Regions from separate parts of the Homo sapiens genome. Here all the other regions are linked to region 1. Evidence: promoter capture Hi-C in human tissues and cell types (Jung and others, 2019). All regions are on one chromosome and are shown on one strand. The core of a region is centred on a gene start or on the middle of the fragment in contact, and the rest is flanking DNA. Distances in the headings are between cores, read along the strand shown. Region 1 holds the start of SPDYE4 (speedy/RINGO cell cycle regulator family member E4). Region 2 overlaps STX8 (syntaxin 8). Region 3 holds the start of AURKB (aurora kinase B).

Region 1 (3,574 bases), core at 773-3,272:
GGGGGAAGTCTCAGGATTGTGGCCAAGGCTTAGGTGGATGGGAGAGGAGAGAAGGACTTTCACTGGGCAAGGAGGGAGGCTCCCGCTCTGAGATTCCCCTGAGGAGAGGCCGAAGGAGGCCTCTGGTGTCAGAGTCTACAGGATGAAGAGCTGTGAATAAGCCATGATGTCCTCCCATCAGACAGGAAGGGACCACTGCAGAAGTCATAATAGAATTCCCATCATTGCTTCCTGAGATAGTCACAGCTGGGTGTGCCCATGGCCTTGTTATCCCCCTCCACGGATGGAGACACTTAGGTTTAGAAAAGTCATCAAGAGACATAGAGTTTCAGAGGGTACAGCTGAAACCAAGCTTTCTTTTATCTTTTATTTTATTTTATTTTATTTATTTTATGACAGGGTCTTTCCTTGTCAACCAGGCTGGAGTGCAGTGGTGCAATCATAGCTCATTGCAACTTCAAACTCCTGAGTTCAAGAGATCCTCCCGCCTCAGCCTCCCAAAGCACCAAGATCTCAGGCATGAGCCACTGCACCTGGCCAGAAACCAAGCTTTCTTATTTCAAGTGCAGACCTTTATTAAGACTAGCCTAATCCTCTATCTCCTAAGCATCCTCCTCCTGCATGGAGCGCTCATCCCCCAGGAGGGCATATTCTTCTTATTGGGAAAGTGTGATTATTGAAAGATTCCACTTTTTTAAAAGAACAGGGTTGGAGGTGCTTTTTGGGGTATCCTCCTACCAAGGAGCCTGTTGAAGGCCTCGTGGTGCTCAGGGAGCACGGAGGATGCTCGCTTTCGCTTCAGCTTCATCTTGAGCCCACACAGCGTCTCCACCACCCAGGTGTCCTCGGGCTCAGGGGCGCGCTCCAACTCCAGCTCCTCCTCCAGCTCCTCCTCGGATTCGTCTGACCATTCGCTCTTCCTTTTCAGGCCAAGGGATTGAGGCTGGGGGCTGGGATCTATCCAAGGGGCTGAGTGAAGAAACCAGGCCATGGTGTCATGTTTCTGCCATTGATCACCTTAGACGCCCCGACCCAGGAACCTCAAACTACTCTTCCATCCTCCCAAGCCTCGCAGACTGTCAGCTTCTCCAAGCCATGTTTCCACCTTTCTCCTTTGCTGATCCCCATCTGCCTCTCCCTCACCTCCCCATTCTTCCGGCTCTCTGTCCTCAAAACATTTCCTCATCACAGATAAGAACTTTCAATTGGAGAAAAATGGAAACCTTCCCTTGAGCTCTGTCTGCTCTCTCTCTCTCTCTCTCTTTTTTTTTTTTTTGAGATGGAGTCTCCCTCTTGTTGCCCAGACCGGAGTGCAGTGGCACAATCTTGGTTCACTGCAACCTCCGCCTCCTGGGTTCAAATGATTCTCCTGCCTCAGCCTCTTGAGTAGCTGGGACTACAGGCACGCACCACCATGCCCAACTCACTTTTGTATTTTTGGTAGAGACAGGGTTTCATCGTGTTAACCAGGATGGTCTCGATCTTCTGACCTCGTGATCCGTCCGCCTCGGCCTTCCTCTCTCATCTTTTGAGCACATCTCCTGACCCCCTTCATTGCTCCCCAGACTTTCTTTACACGTGGCCATGCTTGGCCCCATTCCCTGCACCCTCCTTCCCCGATCCCTGGCTTCCTGAGTCCGTCGTTTCTTTCCCACACACCCTACTCAGGTGCTTCAGATTCCCAGTAACTGGCCCCCTTCCCTCTCCTCAGTCAATCATCTCCCATCGCTTCTCCCTCCAGTCACCTCACCTGATGGTCCTGGCACTTCATCATCCACCACCACCTCGGGGGACCGTACCGTTGTGCTAGGCTGGGGGCTCTCCTCCTCAAACGGGGGGCGCGCTTGACCACTGGCCATAATCTCTCCCAAACACTTTGTTTCTGTCCACAAAACCTAGTCCCTGTTCTGTCCAAAGCCTTCTTCCAGACTCCGTTAGGACCCAGAAGAGTGCGTTTCTCTTCTAGAGGCTCGGGAGAAGTTAGGAGTGAAGAGTAGTTCTGAGAAGTTGCTGTTGTCCACCTGAACTCCCAAGCAACCAGAGTCCGGTCCTTCCAATCAGGAAAGTCGGAATCTCTGATGTCATCGGTCATTCCAAACTGGCAACTACTTTGAAGAAAAACACATGTAACTGCCAGACTGATCTCTTTTCTTGGAGATCCGGGGTGAACGGTATCTCCTGGCAATGTCCCAACCTCTGAGCATTGTCCAAAAGCATCCTCAGGGTCTCCACATTCCTCTTTTCCCTGTCCCAGCAGAGGCTGTGTCCTCTCCACTCTAAACTTGAGGGGGTGTTGGGCTCTCCTCCCCGCTTCTCCTTCCCATTTCAGAGTCTAGTCTGGTGAGAGAGGGAGGAAGGTGGAAGGAAATTTAGGGTAAGCAGAATGATGAGTCCTTCCAAGAGTGAGATTAACATATACAGGAGATCCTGGGTAAATTGACTTGTTGAATGGAGACGTTACGTCGAAGTACTCAATGTGGCAAAGCTTTTTTGCTGAATGTTTACTGATATTCACTATCCTGGATCCTATAGTAGGGGAACATGCATCCTTTGCTCTCAGGCATCTTTGAGTCCAAGAGACATTTTGAGGAATGAAAATCACAGGAGACTGTCCATGGTTTCGTACAGATTTTCAATGGTGTCCACAAGTTCAGGGCATCCATGGATCACCTAAAGCCTGCCCTCCAGTTCAGCTAAGGAACTCTGGTCTATATATCAACTATTACAACATATCTATTTCACTTGACCCCAAAATTTGCCTACTATTTATGTATTTTATGAATAAAATATCCTGTGTATAAAAAGACTAAGGGGAAAATCTCAGCCAGGCCCAGGGGCTCCTGCTCATAATCTCCCTCCTTTGGGAGGCCAAGGCAGGGCGTCACTTGAGGTTAGGAGTTCAAGATTAGTCTGGGCAACATAGCAAAACGTCATCTCTACAAAATATAAACAAAGTAATCAGGAATCGTGGCACACACCTGTGGTCCCAGTACTTGGGAGGCTGAGGCAGGAGGATTGCTTCAGCCCAAGTGTTTGAGGCTGCAGTGAGCTATGATTGCACCACTGCACACCAGCCTGGAGGACAGAGTGAGACTCAGTCTCAAAAATATTTTTTTCGGAAAAAATAAAAATGTAAGAGCTGGATACTATCTCAGATACCATCCAAAGAACCTGTGAGTTCTGGCACAGCTTCCTAATGGGCTCCTAGGAGTCTCTCGCTGATGGGAAAGGCACAACTGAATGAGGAGGCAGATCCCGTCGCTGTGGAAGTCCAATTGTTAGGAAACTCTGCTTACATTGAGTGGACCTTCGCATTCACGATGCTTTCAACCATCAGAACTGGTTGGATCCTTTTACAACAAAACAGAAAATCATCTTTCTCTCCTATTTAATAGGCTTTCAAACATTAGAAGATCAATATTCTGTTGCCATTAAAATTTCTCTTCTGTACCACGTAAAGTTCTGATTAATCACTCTTCAAGCCAGTTTTACATATTCCTCTGTCTTCTAGGCACCTTCTGTAGACAGGCTACAATAAGGCAGCCATCTTAAATTATGTCAATACATTGTCCAA
Region 2 (3,574 bases), core at 603-3,102, 780 kb after region 1:
GCCACATTAATGTCTGTTTAAAGGAAATGCTAATCCAAACTGAAGTTTGACCATTCTTGACTCTCCTTAATAAGGCCACATATGAGGAAGAAGAGAAAAGAGGGAAAAGAGGGATGGAAAGGCCCTCGGGAATGAGGGATGGGGAAGAAAGAGAGGAAAAGAGCGTTGTGCAAAGTAAATGAAAAAGAGGGAAACAGAGGTAGGGGCTCTAGGAAGGGAGGCTCACCAGGTTCCAAGCGAGTCCTGGTAGGGTAAACAGATCTTGTGGCATTGCTGCCAGTTACTAGGGAAATGTTGATTAGCAGATTAACCCCAGTTCTCTAACAGTAAATGTGTTGTGGTCATGGTCTAGCATTCCTGACAAAATGTGCCATAGTGAGCACGTCTATAACATTTCAAAGTTCTGACAAGGCTTTCTGGCCACCATGCTTCTGGAAGTCATGAATTAAGGGAAAGACACCTACCCTCCACTCACAAAGTGACAAAGCAACCCAACTGACCCCCCCCACCCCAAAACCAAGAACTACAGAAGCAAAGAAAAATGCTGGAGGAATCCAGAGATTAGAGAAGCAAACGAAAATGTTGGAGGAGCCTAGAACTAGGAATTAACTGTAGAGAGGACTAAGGAAATCTCTGCAAGTCATTGGAGATACTACAGAAACCAACTGGCAGAGAAAGGAATGAGTTTCTCCAAAGATAGATAGAGCTGAGCGTTCCCTAAGAGTTGGTATTAGAAATGACTAGGCAACTGACAATCAGGAGGGAAGGGGATACAATCGAATTGTAATTGAACATGTCATATAATGAACAAGTCATGTTTACAACTGAATTAAAGTCCTTGGAAGGCTAGGTCCAACAAGAGAACTATTAGGTATGAGAAGTTGGGGAAAGAAGGGGAGGTCTCAAGGATGGGGATTAGGAGTAAAGAAGGCAAAAATAATACTCTTACATAGGCAGGTGAAGGAAATCAAACAACAGCAACTCTGACCTCAAATCTAAGAAAATCCACTTCCAGCAGTCCACTTCAGCTTTAGCATTCACTCCTCCATACACTTCTTGCTGGTCCTCGATAGGTCCACATGGTGCCATCTTCCCTGACTAGTTGGAGCAACGCTAGCTAGCTGGGTATTTGTTCTCATGGCCCTTGAGCAGATTTCCCGGGGACTTTTCTACATAGCTTATGAGAGTGCTTTTGTCTAGTATGAATTTTCTTATTGATCAGACTTCTCTGGAATGTCTACAGGACTTGCACTTTTTGGACAAGCATATGCGGACATGTTCCCGTTACGGTGTTGGGTCTAAAGCAATCCTAGCCCAACAAGGAATCACCAATGGAAGTGAATGAGAAATTCACCTTCCAGGCCACCGACATCATTCTCCTTCCTCTCTGTATCTGCAATGATTTTCTTTCTTCATGGTGCTCAATGTCCAGTCGCCACATTGGTTTCCCGCTCTTGGCCAGACTCCATGTCATCCAGAACGGACCATCATTGTGTGTTATGTCCACGTCTACCTTCTCCAAATCACTCCACAGGAGTCATTTCTCCTTGACAGTACTTACATTATTTTTAAACAGAATTCTTCTAGAACCTTATTCTGAACCATCCTAGACTTCTGGTCCTGAACAGAAAAGATACACCAATCTCTATGTTGCCCTTGGTTTCATCTTGAGAGCATGTAAATAAGTCTGGCCAGTAACTTTATTTCAACCCTCAGGGATTCAGTTACCTTTGCTTGACAGTGTCTCCCCAGTATGATCTCTGTCCCCATGCCACTCAGCCATTCACCAACACACCAACAAGCAACAGCTTTAGTCCACCACATGGATCAGCCTTATGGGCATGAAGAGCAGAAGGCAGTCCCAGTGGCAGGACCCAAGAGGTCCTCAGAAGGCCTCCATCCAAAAAAACCACCTGACACTAACCTGCCAAATTCCCTAAACATTCCCATCAACTAATTCACTGTGGTTTCAATCCTAGGGTTTAAGGAGGTTTCGGTGAAAATACCTCCAGAAGACAAGACATTGGCAGCCGTTGATTCCACTGCTAGAATTAACATGAGATTGTTCACTAATAAGACAATAGGCAGCAAGCTGGGCACGGAGGGAAGCAGACACGGAACAAATGAGATGTGGAAGAGGAGAATGGAGGGCAGAGGACCAGGTGCAGCGTATGATGGGGTCAGACAGACCACGTCCTTCTAGAGCAATCAGGGGGCAGGGCACGAGGGACAGAAGATCTCCGAAGCAATGAGGCAGCCTGAGTTCCCTCCTAGCCGGATGGAGACACAATGCTCCAGTAATAACATCTTGTATTTATAAAGGTCTTAGAGTTTACAAAGCCTGTCTCATAGCAATCACTTCATCTGGTCCTAACAACAACGAAAAATGGGCAGCACATGTATCCCCAGTCTAAGGTCAATGACTTCAAAGCCCACATGACTGACAGACTAGAAAGCTACAGAACTGGGTCCTTCTAACACCTCATCCAGCTCTTTTTATGGTGCAATGGTTACAAGTTCAGAGCTAAAATCCAAGTTCTATGACTGATTAGCTTTAGAATCTTGAACCCTCTGAGCCTGTTTCTCTTCTGCAAAATGGGGCATTATAAAGAGCTCCTGAGCAAATGCACATAAAGAGCTTAGCACAGTGCCTACCATATAAAAAACAAATAGCAGACATAAGCTATAGGTCTCATGACTAGTACACTGTGACATAGAGCAGTCGTTCTAACCCTGCCACCTACTAAAACCACCCGGTAGTCTCCCCAGCCTTACTGCTGCCCAGGCCTCACCCAAGACTATGAATCAGACTCTGCAAGTACATGGTCTAAACATTTGTATTTTTTTTTTTTTTTCCATTCTCTCTTGGGTGATTCTGATGCAAAGTGCCACGATTAAGAATAAATGACACAGGCCAGGTGTAGTGGCTCATGGCTGTAATCCCAGCGTTTTGGGAGGCTGAGGCAGGCAGATCACCTGAGGTCAGGAGTTCAAGACCAGCCTGGCCAACATGGTAAAACCTCATCTCTACCAAACATACAAAATTAGCCAGGCGTGGTAGTGCGTGCCTGTGATCCCAGCTACTCGGGAGGCTGAGGCAGGAGAATCACTTGAACTCGGGAGGCGGAGGTTGCAGCGAGCTGAAATTGTGCCACTGCACTCAAGCCTGGGTGACACAGCAAAACTCCGTCTCAAAAACAAAACAAACAAAAACAACAACAAAAAAACAAGGGCCGGGAGCTGTGGCTCACGCCTGTAATCCCAGCACTTTGGGAGGCCGAGGCAGGCAGATCACGAGGTCAGGAAATCGAGACCATCCTAGCTAACATGGTGAAACCCTGTCTCTACTAAAAATACAAAAAATTAGCCGGGCATGGTGGCGGGCGCCTGTAGTCCCAGCTACTCGGGAGGCTGAGGCAGGAGAGTGGTGTGAACCTGGGAGGCGGAGCTTGCAGTGAGCCAAGATTGCGCCACTGCACTCCAGCCTGGGCGACAGAGCAAGACTCCATCTCAAAAAATAAATAAATAAATAAATAAATAAATAAATAAGGAATAAATGATACAAAGCAGTTAT
Region 3 (3,574 bases), core at 476-2,975, 550 kb before region 1:
AGAGGTATTCTCAAAGTCTCCTAAAAAGCTTAGTTTATTAAGGCTTAGATAAGATGCTTGAGGCCTTGAATGTTATAGCAATAACCAGGATTTACACTTTTGCAAGAACAGGCTTTAAGGACACTAAGAGCTACCCTGATGGCCCTGGACCACTTCTCACTTTCAACTTCTTCATTTTTTTTTTTTTTTGAGATGGAGTCTCGCTCTATTACCCAGGCTGGAGTGCAATGGTGCCATCTCGGCTCACTGCAACCTCCACCTCCCAGGTTCAGGCAATTCTCCTGCCTCGGCCTCCTGAGTAGGTGGGATTACAGGCACATGCCTGGCTAATTTTTGTATTTTTAGTAGAGACGGGGTTTTACCATGTTGGCCAGGCTGGTCTCGAACTCCTGACCTCAGGTGATCCACCTGCCTCAGCCTCCCAGTGCTGGGATTACAGGCGTGAGCCACCTACCTGGCCTCACTTTCAACTCTCAAAATAATAGGTACATTTTCTTTTAGGAGTGACTAAGGTAAAAGTGACAATGGTTTCTCATTCAGACTCCATTCCTGACAGCCTCACTCAGTGCTCCATGAGGGAGGGAGCTGATGTACAAGGGAACAGACAGACTCTCCAGGAAGCAAGAGCTCCAAAAACAGGGAGCAAAGCCTGTGCAGGGCCCCTTCCTTCTTCTGCAGCCAAGAGAAGAAAGCCCCTAGGCCCCAAATAGTGATATTGGTACCAATCTACAAATAAGCAAGTTGAATAAAATACAGTCCAGAAATAGACCCACATATATGTGGGAATTTATATATATAATAAAGGTGGCATTTCAAATCAGAGAGGAGGCCCTTCAATGAAATCTGTCTGGACCATTGGGAAATAAGTCAATTTAGATCCATTTAGATTCTTACCTCAATTTAGTCATTAATTCCAAATTGTAATTTAGACTTGCCCTGGGCCTTTTAAACTGTAACTTTATATCCTTTTAGAGTCTATTTCTATTTGCTGTCTAGTTTTTTTTTTTTCAGGATATGGATTGGGAATCATGGCCTGAAGGCCAGGCCCTGCCTGCTCAGTCCCAGATATCATTTGTATGTGACGAGCCCTGCAGAGGTCCTCACCAGCTGGGAGTCACTGGCTGGTCAGATTCACGTTGGCAGCACCTGACAGGATGTGGCTACAAATGACCAGAGCGGGTTCTGTCGTCAAACTTGGGACCCGTACTTTGGAGCATAACGGGGAAGAAAGTGCTTAAAGGATTGCTCATTGCAGGATCTCAAGTTTCCCAGCAGGAACTCGCCATGCGGGGTCATGGGGGCGCAGGGACGGAGGGAAGGGCCTTACCGTCTGTCGGCCGTAGGGCCAGGGGTAGGAGTTCTCCTTCTGGGCCATCCTTAGAGAGAAAGGGGGAGGAGAGCTGGGCGGAGAAGGGAAACAGCCGTGAGAAGCAGAGAAAAAGAGAGAGAGAGGGAGGGGTTGGACCGATCGAGCCGGAAGCGCTAGCCCGAGCTGGTAAAAGGGAGCAGGTCAGCACACTAGCCCCAATCTGGGCGCTGGTCTCACCGCCCCCGCCCTGCTATCGTCCCTACCTCCTTCCAGCCCTGCGGCGTGCGCGCAGGCCAGCCCAACGGACCCTCTGATCTACCTGATCATCTGCCCACTCCCGGCGCAAGGCCTGCGACAGGAGGCCAGCTCACCTGGGGTCCAAGGCACTGCTACTCTCCCGGCCGCCCGCAAACAACTGAATCTGCCACGCCGCGCCCTGGCCAAGGACTTTTCAAATCTCCCGCCCCGGCCCCATTGGGCAAGCTCGTCGCCCATGCCTAGTTCCCATTGGCTCGATGTCCTGTGACGTAAGTCATGGGAACCCAATGGAAGAGGCGGAATGAGAAGGGCTCACGCTTGGCTTCCAGTTTAGGAAAGTTTCCCCAAATTCCCCCAGTGAATTATCTTGCTTTTTCTTTTCTTTTTTTTTTTCCTTTTTTGAGACAGGTCTCTCTCTGTCGCTCAGGCTGGAGTATAATGGTGCTATCTGGGCTTGCTGCAACCTCTGCCTCCCGGGTTCAAGCGATTCTCGTGCCTCAGCCACCCGAGTAGCTGGGATTACAAGCGCCCGCCACCACGCCTGGCTAATTTTTGTATTTTTATTAGAGACGGGTTTTCGCTGTGTTGGCCAATCTGGTCTCGAACTCCTGTCCTCAGGTGATCCACCCGCCTCGGCTTCCCAAAATGCTGGGATTACAGGCGTGAGCCACCGTGCCCGGCCTTCTTCTTTTTATAAAAAAAATTAAATCTTTAATGTAACTGGAGTTTATCCTTATGCATGTATGAGCTGGGGTCTAACTTCTCTGCCCGATGGAGCGCCAGTTATGTCAACACCATTTGTTAAACAAACTGCCCCAACAGAATTTAAATGCTGCCCTTGATATATAATGTTAGCATATTTACTTGTGTCTATTTCTAGACTTTGTATTCCGTTGTTTGCTCATTTGCCTGTGTGTTTATTCTTGTGTCATTACTATGTCGTTCTTAAAAGTTCTGACATTCCTGGGAGGAGTTTTTCCACCAATAGACCTTTCGTTGCAAGATCTCTGTTAGCTGCCGTGTTGTTTGGGCCCACTTTCATTTTTCCTCCTTCCTGCCACACTTCCTTCTTTTCTGCTCTTCCTAACCCTCAGATTTCATTACTGGGTTAAATAAATACATTTTTGGGCCTTCTATGAAATAACCAGTGGATATTTATTAAGTATGTACTGTCCAGCACTCTTCTCCTTTCTTCTAACACTCTATTTTTCCTTTAGGGGACCACCTGTCTCTCCAGTCTATGCAGTCGGTTTCTGTAGTAGTTTCTGTTGCTGACAACCCCAAATCCCTAGGTTGATGAAGACCTATTTAAATCTCACTTTTTTTTTTTTTTTTGAGATGAAGATTCGCTGTGTTGCCCAGGCTGGAGTGCAATGGCACAATCTCAGCTCACCACAACCTCCTCCTCCAGGGTGCAACTGATTCTCCTGTCTCAGCCTCCCGAGTACCTAGGATTATAGGTGCATGTGACCACGCCCGGCTAATTTTTGTATTTTTAGTAGAGACGGGGTTTCATCACATTGCTCAGGCTGGCCTCAGGTGATCCGCCCGCCTTGGTCTCCCAAAGTGCTTGGATTACAGGCGTGAGCCACTGCGCCCAGCTTTATTCCCACTTCTGAAAGCACTTAGAGTTTTGAGGATTTGAGAAGGAAACTGACTTCATTGCAGGTCCAGAAATGAGCCCCAATTAACTTATACTAATCAATACCTTTTATTCCAGATTATGGTTATTGGATCAGGCATAAGCCTGTGATTTAAGTGGGCCAGCTAGTGGGAATCAGTTTCTTGCTCAGAATGCTGGGCAGCTCAAGGAAACACTTAACGTTTACTGGTTTATCATAAAGTGTATTACAAATGATATAGATGAAAAGATGTATAGGGCAAGGTATGGAGGAAGAGATTTCTGGAAGTGAGCAGGGAAGCATGCAGCCCTCATTGCTGCTTCTAGTGCTACTGAAGGAAGCAGCTTGACATTGAAGCCTAACATTGCAGAAGGCAGAAGAGAGG

The links. Contacts are between HindIII fragments. The study calls those that stand out against the background at their distance.
Region 2: a contact is called between a fragment that was not itself captured here and the fragment with the promoter of SPDYE4 in region 1, in 1 of the 25 tissues and cell types used here (lymphoblastoid cells).
Region 3: the fragment with the promoter of AURKB here is called in contact with the fragment with the promoter of SPDYE4 in region 1 in 1 of the 25 tissues and cell types used here (neural progenitor cells).

Annotation. Positions count from the first base shown.
Region 1 is chr17:8,756,524-8,760,097 of GRCh38, forward strand. It overlaps SPDYE4 (speedy/RINGO cell cycle regulator family member E4), which reads right to left and starts at 2,023. Exons shown (of 7, transcript NM_001394956.1): 1 at 1,751-2,023; 2 at 739-969. The coding sequence starts at 1,859. The HindIII fragment of the contact is 5,925 bases long and covers 1-3,574 here.
Region 2 is chr17:9,539,165-9,542,738 of GRCh38, forward strand. The region is part of intron 4 of STX8 (syntaxin 8); the gene reads right to left. Among named protein-coding and RNA genes, the nearest start is that of STX8, 35 kb to the right of the region's middle. The HindIII fragment of the contact is 5,742 bases long and covers 1-3,574 here.
Region 3 is chr17:8,208,850-8,212,423 of GRCh38, forward strand. It overlaps AURKB (aurora kinase B), which reads right to left and starts at 1,726. Exons shown (of 9, transcript NM_004217.4): 1 at 1,681-1,726; 2 at 1,328-1,400. The coding sequence starts at 1,375. RefSeq lists enhancers at 958-1,617, 1,179-1,228. The HindIII fragment of the contact is 18,109 bases long and covers 1-3,574 here.